3 separate regions of the Homo sapiens genome follow, and regions 2 and 3 are each linked to region 1. Evidence: promoter capture Hi-C in 16 types of primary human blood cells and fetal thymus (Javierre and others, 2016). All regions are on one chromosome and are shown on one strand. Each heading gives the region's core, a stretch centred on a gene start or on the middle of the fragment in contact. The rest is flanking DNA. Distances are from core to core; before and after follow the strand shown.

Region 1 (3,083 bases), core at 253-2,752:
AATACAAGGTAAGATAATGAGGAAAAAAAGAATATGTAAAAGTTTGCCACAGTTTTTTGATCTCATAACTATTAATAAAACTCTTCTGGGCACACCCTCACCTTCACTTACAACAAGTGAAAAAAATGAGTGATATATAAAAATTGGTTCCAATCTAAAATATTAGAATCACATGCAAATATTCAGATATCTGAGTTGGACAGTTAAAATAATATTTTAAATATATATATGTATACTCACGATTCATCTAAATCTTCTACAAATCCTTTACAGACGACCATATCAAGTACAACAACTGAAAAAAAAAGACAAAATGTACACAATAAATGCTGATTATTTGGCTCATACCGTATAAGCTTAGTCATCTCTGAAGTGTTTTTGACCTTTCACAACCTACCAAAAAATTCATCACTGATGCATCCCAGGGTGCAAATGATGCAAAAGCAAAGGTAGTTCATCCATTTAATAAATATTTAGTCTGTATGCAACCATATCGTGACCGGCCAAGTTCTAGGTAAGCCAATAAATCTAATACACACAGTTCCTTTTTCCTCCATATTTTCACTCTCATCTTACGTCTCTTTTTAACCATCCTATCTTTTTGGAATACAAATAGACAGCATTCTTCTTTATTTCTTTTGCTTTAGTAGCAATTACCTCTTCCGTAAAAACTCCAAATGCCATTCAAAATATTTCCCCTCAAATAGATACGTAGGAAGAAAGTCGAGCTGCAACTCTAATACTTATTACACGGCAGTGCCTGACACAGAGTGGGCTCTAAAAGGTTGTTAAGTGAGCGGACCCCAGTGAGAATGAGGGCACTCCATGCTGACGGGAGGCAGCTGAGAACCGCTGACACACACTCAGGTCCTTTTCACACCGCACAATCCCGGCGGCCTGACCCTGATCTGTCCTCGACCACCCTCTCTTGAGTACTGGTGGTAAAAATCCTTAAACGTGACAAGACTCGGAACCTAAAGCCAAGGCAAGATTTGGTCGTTAAGCTGGGACGGCGGCATCCTTCTTGCCCATCAAAGGAGTAAGCTTTATTGAAACTTCTGCCACAATGAGAAAAACACAAACACAAGGCAGCGCGCCCTTCCCACGTCCAGCATTGGTCCGGCACAGCGGCGGCGGAAGGACCCCAAGGTGTCCGCTCCGTCAGGGCCAGGCAGGGTGGCGCGGCGGGGGCGGCAGGACGCTGCCGGGAATGGGTGGGCATCTCCACGAACCCCGCAGGCCTCGCCCCAGACCCGGGTCCAATCCCGGCCCCACGGCGGGGCCAGGTCCCACGCGCCCGCCAGCGTCCCGACCGCTGAGCCCCCATTACCTGTGGCGCAGAGCCGCAGGGCCGTCCAACTCTTCCACGCTGCCATGCTAGCCCGGGAGAGCTGCAGAAGCTGACTGTGCAAAAGAGGGATAAAGACACTGGGGTCCGCCGCCTGCCCGCCCGGAAAGGGAAACGGAGCCGACCCGGAGCGGAAGAGAAGCACCGCGCTAACTACGGGGGCGGGGCTACCCGGCCAGTCTCCGTCTCCGGCTATGCGCGGGAGTGCGGCGCATGCGAGGGGAGTGCGGCGCATGCGACAGCGCCTGCGCAGTCATGTCTTAAGAATCCTTTGCGCTCTCGGTGCCCCCCTCCACGCCCAGGAGCGTGGGAACCCTGCTTAAGGGCTTTACTAGGGAAAACGGTGCTGGTTCACTGGGGCGCGTTTCCGGGAAGGTGAATACCGGTGAAAGTTATGCTGAGGGTGAGGTAGGCTCTGACGACGCACTTGCAGGTTGAATACTGGCACATCATTTACTTGTTACTCCCGTGTGGTGAGTGCACCTGTGGGTTTTGATGCTGGATCAAATTCCTGGAAAGAGGCGCGCATTAAGACTGCGGATTGCTGAGCTGCGCGACACTCCGTATTTTTCCAAAACGTATTTGTAATATTCTTTCAACCTGTTTGCATAATGGGACATCTCTTAAATGCAGCAAGCTTTAATGCATTTTTGCCAAAGTAAGGATTGCCTCTTTAAAAACTTTCTCTTGAAACTTGAGAACATGAAGTTAAGCGTAGGATATTTTTTGATGGCTCTTTTCTGATTATTTTGGAACTAGATAAAGTAGTATGAAATATTTATATTGCTACCTGTTTTTTCTTCTATACGACAATGATTTGTAAAAACCATATACTTTTATAAGACGGTTACTGCAGCAATCACTACTTACGAACTAGATGAAATTTTTATGGGACATAAGGTACCAGAGAATTTAGATCAAACCAAATTTTGAAAACCTGTGACAACAACAGAAGGGGGATATGATGTCAGCCGGTTCACCTTAGGTTCAAAATTCCAACAGGCAAAAATGTCATAAAACGTCGTTATTCCTAGTGACTAGAAGATTAAATTGCACTCTAATTGAGAGCAAGCCCTAAATGTCACCCCCTTTGTGCATGCAGCATGGTATCCAGCGCAAGCCCTCTACAGATTCAATTTTTCTTTTTCTTTCTCTTTTCCTTTTTTTCTTTTTTTTTTAAGAAAAAAGTAGACTAAAACGTAAGGGGACTGTTGAAATGATGGGAATGTTCTCCCGGTGGTGGTGGAACAGCTTTATAATAGTACCATCGCCTCGATACTCTTATACAGAAGCTTTTCTACTTTCTTGGCAAGGTCTCTGAATGACCCATATTCAATTTTTTTTTTTCATTCTCATGTATTTCAAAGTTTTCTGTCTTCCACAGCATGCAAAGTGAAATAATTTCCTCTTATATTTGCGTTACAGTTTAAGTTCACATGTGGACAACAACAAAAGCCAGTTGACCTAGATCTGTGCTTTTCAGTAGTGTAGCCACTAACCACATGTGGCTATTGAGCTTTTGAAATGTGCCTAGTGTGATGAAATAACTGAATATTTATTTTTTTTAATTTCAGTAAACTCAAAAACTGACACTCGATTCAGCTATTGGAAAGTTTTTTTAATGTGGTTGGAACAACTGAGGTATGTGAATCTACTTTTTCAACTGTAAATTTTATGAAATCTAAATACTGATCAAGTCCCAGGCATGGGTGGCTCATGCCTATTATCCCAGCAC
Region 2 (3,083 bases), core at 147-2,646, 1.2 Mb after region 1:
GTAGAAACAGGGGTCTACTCATAGCCGTGTCTGCATTTTCACAAAGGACAATGCAGGAAGCAATGGGGAAAATCCTAGAGGGGATGCAGCTGTCTTTGGGGAGCAAAGTGCAGGGAGGTTACAGCAGAGGCTCCATGTGAGGACCTAGACCCGCCTCTCAATAGACTCAGCCTGGAGGTGAAAGAAGTGGTTCCCAACCCTAGAGCCAGGTGGTTCAGAAGCTCAGAGTAGCCCCTGATTAACCTTTCCTGACAAACAGAGTAACTGATTGGTGTTAGATGAAAATCAAGACCTATTACGAGGTCGGCCAAACCTGCCTTGCCTCAGATATTGCTTGTGGCTTCTCAGACCACAGGCTCTTCCTGCAAAGCTCAGTGGAAGGCAGCTCAAAATGACCTTGAAAAGAACTGCCAGAAAGAGCCCACACAAACAAGAGAACCGTGGGATCCTGATGAACTTGGAATTGGAAAGTGGATTCACGTGAAACAGACCAAAATGTCGTAGTTAATTGGGAAGAAAAAAATTTGATTTCAATAAAACAAATACAAATAATGAAAACCAGCTTATACTTATATGTAGCTACGTATTAATACTTAGAATAAACATTGAATAGACTGTGTTGTTTTCCCATGATTTTTATTGCAGGATATCATGATTAAATATTCTCTATTTTGTATGTGGCTTCTCTGGCTTGACCACAAATCATCCTTGGAAATTATTTCAGTGCTTCATCACTTTTCCAACCACTGCTCATGTCCTGGGTACCCCAAACATTGCTGGGTACATCTTCACATCATGCCACTGCCCCTGCCCACTAGCGCCTCCCTGGCTACTGACCTGTCCTCCTCACCATCCTCACTGGTCAACAGTTCTGCATATGCAGTTTGAGCAGCTCTGCAAAATCCTTCACCCACTTCACAAAACCCTGAGTCATTTTACTGTCAGCTTCGTAAACCCAAGCCTCTGTATAGCTAGACCATTTTACACTGCTCTGTACTTAGCACCTAGAACCATGCTTGGCATAAAGTAGAGAAGTCAATCAATATTTTTTGGATAAAAAATTTGCCAACCTAAAGAATGGGAGGAAATATTTGCAAACTATGCATCTGACAAAGGTCTAATATCCAGCATCTATAAGGAAGTTAAGCAAATTTACAAGAGGAAAACGACCCCATTAAAAAGTGGGTAAAGGACACAAACAGACACTTCTCAAAAGAAGACATATACGTGGCCAACAAGCATATGACAAAAAGCTCAATATCACTCATCATTACAGAAAGGCAAACCAAAATGACAATGAGACACCATCTCATACCAGTCAGAATGGCTATTACTAAAAAGGCAAAACATTACAGATGCTGGTGAGGTTGCAGAGAAAAGGGAACACTTATACACTGTTGGTGGGAGTGTAAATTAATTCAACCATTGTGGAAAGCAGTATGGCAATTCCTCAAAGAGATAAAAGCAGAACTACCATTTGACCCAGCAATCCCATTCCTGGGCATATACCCAGAGGAATATAAATCATCCCACTATAAAGACACATATGTACATGAATGTTCACTGCAGCACTAATCACAATAGCAAAGACATGAAATCAACCTAAACGTCCATCAGTGACAGATGGGATAAAGAAAATGTGTTACATATTCATCATGGAATACTATGCAGCCATAAAAAAGAATGAGATCATATGTTTTGTGGGAACATGGATGCAGCTGGAGGCTATTATCCTCAGTAAACTAATGCAGGAATTGAAAACCAAATACCACATGTTCTCACTTTCAAATGGGAGCTAAAGGATAAGAAGTTAGGAACATAAAGAAGGAAACAACAGACACTGGGTCTAGTTGAGAGCGGAGGGTGGGAGGAGGGAGAGAAGCAGAAAAGAGAACTCTTAGTTACTGAGCTTAATAACTGGTGATGAAATAATATGTACAATGAACCCCTGTGACACATATTTACCTATGCAACAAACCTTCACATGTACCCACAAACCTAAAAGTTTTTTTAAAAATTTTTCTGGCCGGGCGCGGTGGCTCACGCCTGTAATCCCAGCACTTTGCGAGGCCGAGGCGGGCGGATCACGAGGTCAGGAGATCGAGACCATCCTGGCTAACAAGGTGAAACCCCGTCTCTACTAAAAATACAAAAAATTAGCCGGGCGCGGTGGCGGGCGCCTGTAGTCCCAGCTACTCGGGAGGCTGAGGCAGGAGAATGGCGTGAACCCGGGAGGCGGAGCTTGCAGTGAGCCGAGATTGCGCCACTGCAGTCCGCAGTCCGGCCTGGGCGACAGAGCGAGACTCCGTCTCAAAAAAAAAAAAAAAAAATTTCTAATAAAATAAAACTGTATTTCTGACTTTAAACACTTGAAAAAATTAATTTGCAATTCATTTGCACTCAATGTGCATGTATTTTTATTGATTTTGGGGGAGATTTACATCTATAATAACCCTAATATTAAGAAATATATTTAAAATAGTATTAGTCATGCCTAAACGAATTGAGAGTTCTAGGCAACAATCCTCAGTGTCTGCAAATTCACAAATGCCATTTATGTTTCCACAGTACCACCTTGGAAGTCATAGCCTTGTCAAAATAATCAAACCTGATGCTAATCAAGCCTCCAAATCTAACCACCAACTTACAGAACTGCAAAGAGCAGAGAAACGTATCAAATGCCACCATGGGAAAGCAGCCCACGGGAATATGAAAAACTCAAGGTGACAACAACAACAAAAAAATGAAAGGTGGAGAGGAATCAACCTACAGGTTAAAGGGAGGTATTACACAGTAACAATGTGTGGAACTTAAAAAGGAAAAATTCATAGAACTGGAGAAATGCAAAGTAGACACTTAATAATTTTAAGAAATTATTGCTGTTTTGTGAGGGGTGAAGGTAATGATGGTATCATGTTTATGTTAAAAAGAAAACTCATCTTTTGAGATTCAGGCTAAAATATTTATTGATGAGATGACTTAATGGCTGGAATTTGCTTCAAATTAATCAAGGGAAAGAGAGAGTGTGAGAAATAGAGAACAATAACACTGACCCAAACTTGATAGTCGGCGAAGCTATATAC
Region 3 (3,083 bases), core at 210-2,709, 1.1 Mb before region 1:
TTCTTTTATTGAAAGAAACACCTTAATATTTAATAATTAGAAACTAGACTATCTTATAATACATTGCTTTGCTATTGAAAATCTTTGCATGAAAAAATCTGTAAAACACATTTTCACTTCCCCTATAGTACAAATTTAGCAATAAGCAAATTCTTCATCTATTTGCCTCATAGATTTCCTTCCTGAATATCACCTCATTTTATTCTGAGTATTTAGTGAAAGTTAAATTCCAACAGATGAGTCATCTTCAGTAGCTGTTGGTTCCCTCATGGCTTCTAATTTGTAAATCTGTATTGGAATCTGTACTTGACTTATATTTATCGCCTATATTTAGCTCAAGTTCAATGTGGACTACAAAACCACATCTGGTCTCCAGAGCTCCCAGATCTAACCACTGGCACAAATCTTTTCCAACTGATAAGGAGCTTCACTTAAACACCTTCAGCTGGAAGCACAGTGCAAATGTTCTCAGCTGTCTGGCTTGGCACCTGGAACTGTCCCCATTACATTTTGGTATGACGTGAGTGGGTGTCACTTTCTGAATACCTTGAAATGAAAGAAATCCTTGAATTCTAAAATGTGCCAGAATGTGTAGCATTTATAAAGGATAATAAATTTAATTTCGTATTTATAATAGAAAGTAAATAATGTGATGAAGTAATATTTAGAATTACATGGCACCATTAGAACCACAAATTTTCAGGAAAATGAATATGATTTGGGATCCTCGTTTTCATTGCAACAATCTGTGGGAAGTGTGTTAACCAGCTCCCATGCCAGTCTTGATTCTATCTGACCATAGTATTAACTGCTGTGCTTTGGGTATACTTGCTGAGTATGGGCACAACATGTTTTATTTTTCATTTCCAAATGAATTACGTTGTTTAGTATAAGGCATAAAAATGTGTACAAATCAATAGTAAGCATATCATATGTAAATAGTTTTGATTACGGGATTTCACACAATTAGGGTAAAAATATTGATGTCTTTGCCACTAAATCAACCAGGTCTATGGTGATAAATATGGGAAAGTTGATTGCAGTAGTTTGGGATCTGAAAAGCCTTAGAACTGAGTAGTGCAGTTGTGACATAAACAAGTATTGAAGTTATTTTTATTTCAATGACAGCATTAGGGTGTAATAGAAACCCTTGAAAGAGGAGGACGTATAGTGTGACAGGAGCACAGACGACCCTTTCACTCGCCCTGCAGCATTCCACACAGAGTCCTATCTCTTGATTCAGAAGCCAGATGTGGGTATTAGTCAGGCATGTGTGGCTGTGTGCGGTATGTCAGTTGTAATGTACTTAGTGGAAAAGAGATTTATTTTTACACTCCCCTCCCTAAAAGTCATTAATAATTAATGAAACTTTAGTGTCCTTTAGGGCAAATTCAAAGAGCAGTTGCGAAGGCTTACTGAAAACACCATGAAATTTAACTCATGGCAATCTCAAAACAGCTTACGTATGAGCTTCTTTTTATTTTGACACTGTTTTCCATTAAAATTCATAGGGAGAAAGAGACAGACAAAATGTTTGTGGGTTTTTCTGAATGGAAATACCATTAGAGAATGATCTCAGCTATGGAAGAAACTACTCTAAAATTCTGGAAAAGCCATAAACATCATTTTTCCTTGTTTTTATTCCTCCAGTAAAAAAAAGAAGGGTAGCCAAAATTTTCAAAAGTAGTCAGTGACAAAAAGCCTTTTTATTCTTGATGAATTGGAAAATTATCCTTTTACTTCCCTAAATGTTTTTATAACAGTAGCTAAGCCATGTATCTCTGAGGTTTAAAAGAAATCCAGTGCTCACATAACCTTTAATGTTCTCCTCCAAGCAATTTTTGATGAGTAATAATTTCCAAGAAAAATGAGCCCTTTTTTTTTTCAGTAATTTCTTACCCTAAATACAGGCATACCTCATTTTACTGTGCTTCTCAGATATTGTATTCTTTACAAATTGAAGGTCTGTGGCAACCCTGCTTTGAGCAAGTATATTGGTGCCATTTTTTTCAGCAGCATGTGCTCGCTTGGTGTCTCTGTGTCACATTTTACTAATTTGTATGATATTCCAAACTGTTTCATTAATACTGTATCTGTTATGGTGATCTGTGAATAGTGATCTTTGATGTTACTATTGCAATTGTTTTGAGAGCATCATGAACTCTACCTATATAAGACAGGGAACTTGATAAATGTGTGTGTGTTCTGATTGCTTCATCAACCAGCTGTTTCCTCATCTTCCTCTCCTCAGGCCTCCCTGTTGCCTAAGGTACAGCAATATCAAAATTAGGCAGACTAATAACCCTACAATAGCCTGTAGGTATTCAAGTGACAGGAGGAGTTACATGTCTTTGACTTTAAAACTAGAAATGATGAAACTTACTGCAAAAGTCATGTCAAAAGTGGAGATAGGCCAAGAGGTGGGCCTCTTGTATGAAACAGGTAGGCAAGTTGAAAATGTGAAGGAGACGTTCTTAAAGGAAATTAAAAGTGCTACTCCAGTGATCACACAAATGATAAGAAAGCAAAACAGGCTTATTGCTGATGGAGAAAATTTTAGTCGTCTGGTTTGAAGATCCATTGAGCCAAAAAATTCTCTTAAGTCAAATACTAATCAAGAGAATAACCCTAACTCTCTTCAATTTTATGAAGGCTGAAAAAGGTGAGGAAGCTGCAGAAGAAAAGTTGGAACCCAGAAGAGGTTGGTTCATGAGATTTTAGGGAAGAAGTTTTCTCTATAACATAAAAGTACAAAGTGAAGCAGCAAGTGATGATGTAGAAGCTGCAGCAAGTTTTCCAGAACATCTAGCTAAGATAGTGATGAAAGTAGCTACACTGGACAACAGACTTGCAATATAGACAAATCAGCTTTTTATTGGAAAATGATGCCATTTAGGACTTTCATAGCTAGAGAGGAGAAGTCAAAGCTTGACTTGACAGTTTCAATGGACAGGATGACTCTTTTGTCAGGAGATAATGCAGTTGGTGATTTTTAAGTTAAAGCCAATGCTCATCTCATTGACTACTCTGGAGACCCTAGGGCCCTTAAGAATGATGCTAAATCTACATCTGAAGACTCAGAT

What was found. Contacts are between HindIII fragments. The CHiCAGO score rates a contact against its expected background, and 5 or more counts as called.
Region 2: a contact is called between a fragment that was not itself captured here and the fragment with the promoter of TMX3 in region 1, in 1 of 17 cell types (activated CD4 T cells). The highest score is 5.7, in activated CD4 T cells.
Region 3: a fragment that was not itself captured here is called in contact with the fragment with the promoter of TMX3 in region 1 in 1 of 17 cell types (naive B cells); the score reaches 5.9 in naive B cells.

Annotation. Positions count from the first base shown.
Region 1 is chr18:68,713,606-68,716,688 of GRCh38, forward strand. It overlaps TMX3 (thioredoxin related transmembrane protein 3), which reads right to left and starts at 1,503. Exons shown (of 16, transcript NM_019022.5): 1 at 1,331-1,503; 2 at 241-295. The coding sequence starts at 1,376. It also overlaps a transcript of CCDC102B not described here. RefSeq lists silencers at 1,151-1,250, 1,431-1,560 and an enhancer at 1,761-1,830. The HindIII fragment of the contact is 941 bases long and covers 1,043-1,983 here.
Region 2 is chr18:69,898,427-69,901,509 of GRCh38, forward strand. The region is part of intron 2 of CD226 (CD226 molecule); the gene reads right to left. Among named protein-coding and RNA genes, the nearest start is that of CD226, 48 kb to the right of the region's middle. The HindIII fragment of the contact is 3,508 bases long and covers 1-3,083 here.
Region 3 is chr18:67,599,124-67,602,206 of GRCh38, forward strand. The region is part of intron 1 of DSEL-AS1 (DSEL antisense RNA 1); the gene reads left to right. All of the region lies in intron 1 of LOC105372174 (a long non-coding RNA gene), which reads right to left. Among named protein-coding and RNA genes, the nearest start is that of DSEL, 84 kb to the left of the region's middle. The HindIII fragment of the contact is 2,932 bases long and covers 1-2,925 here.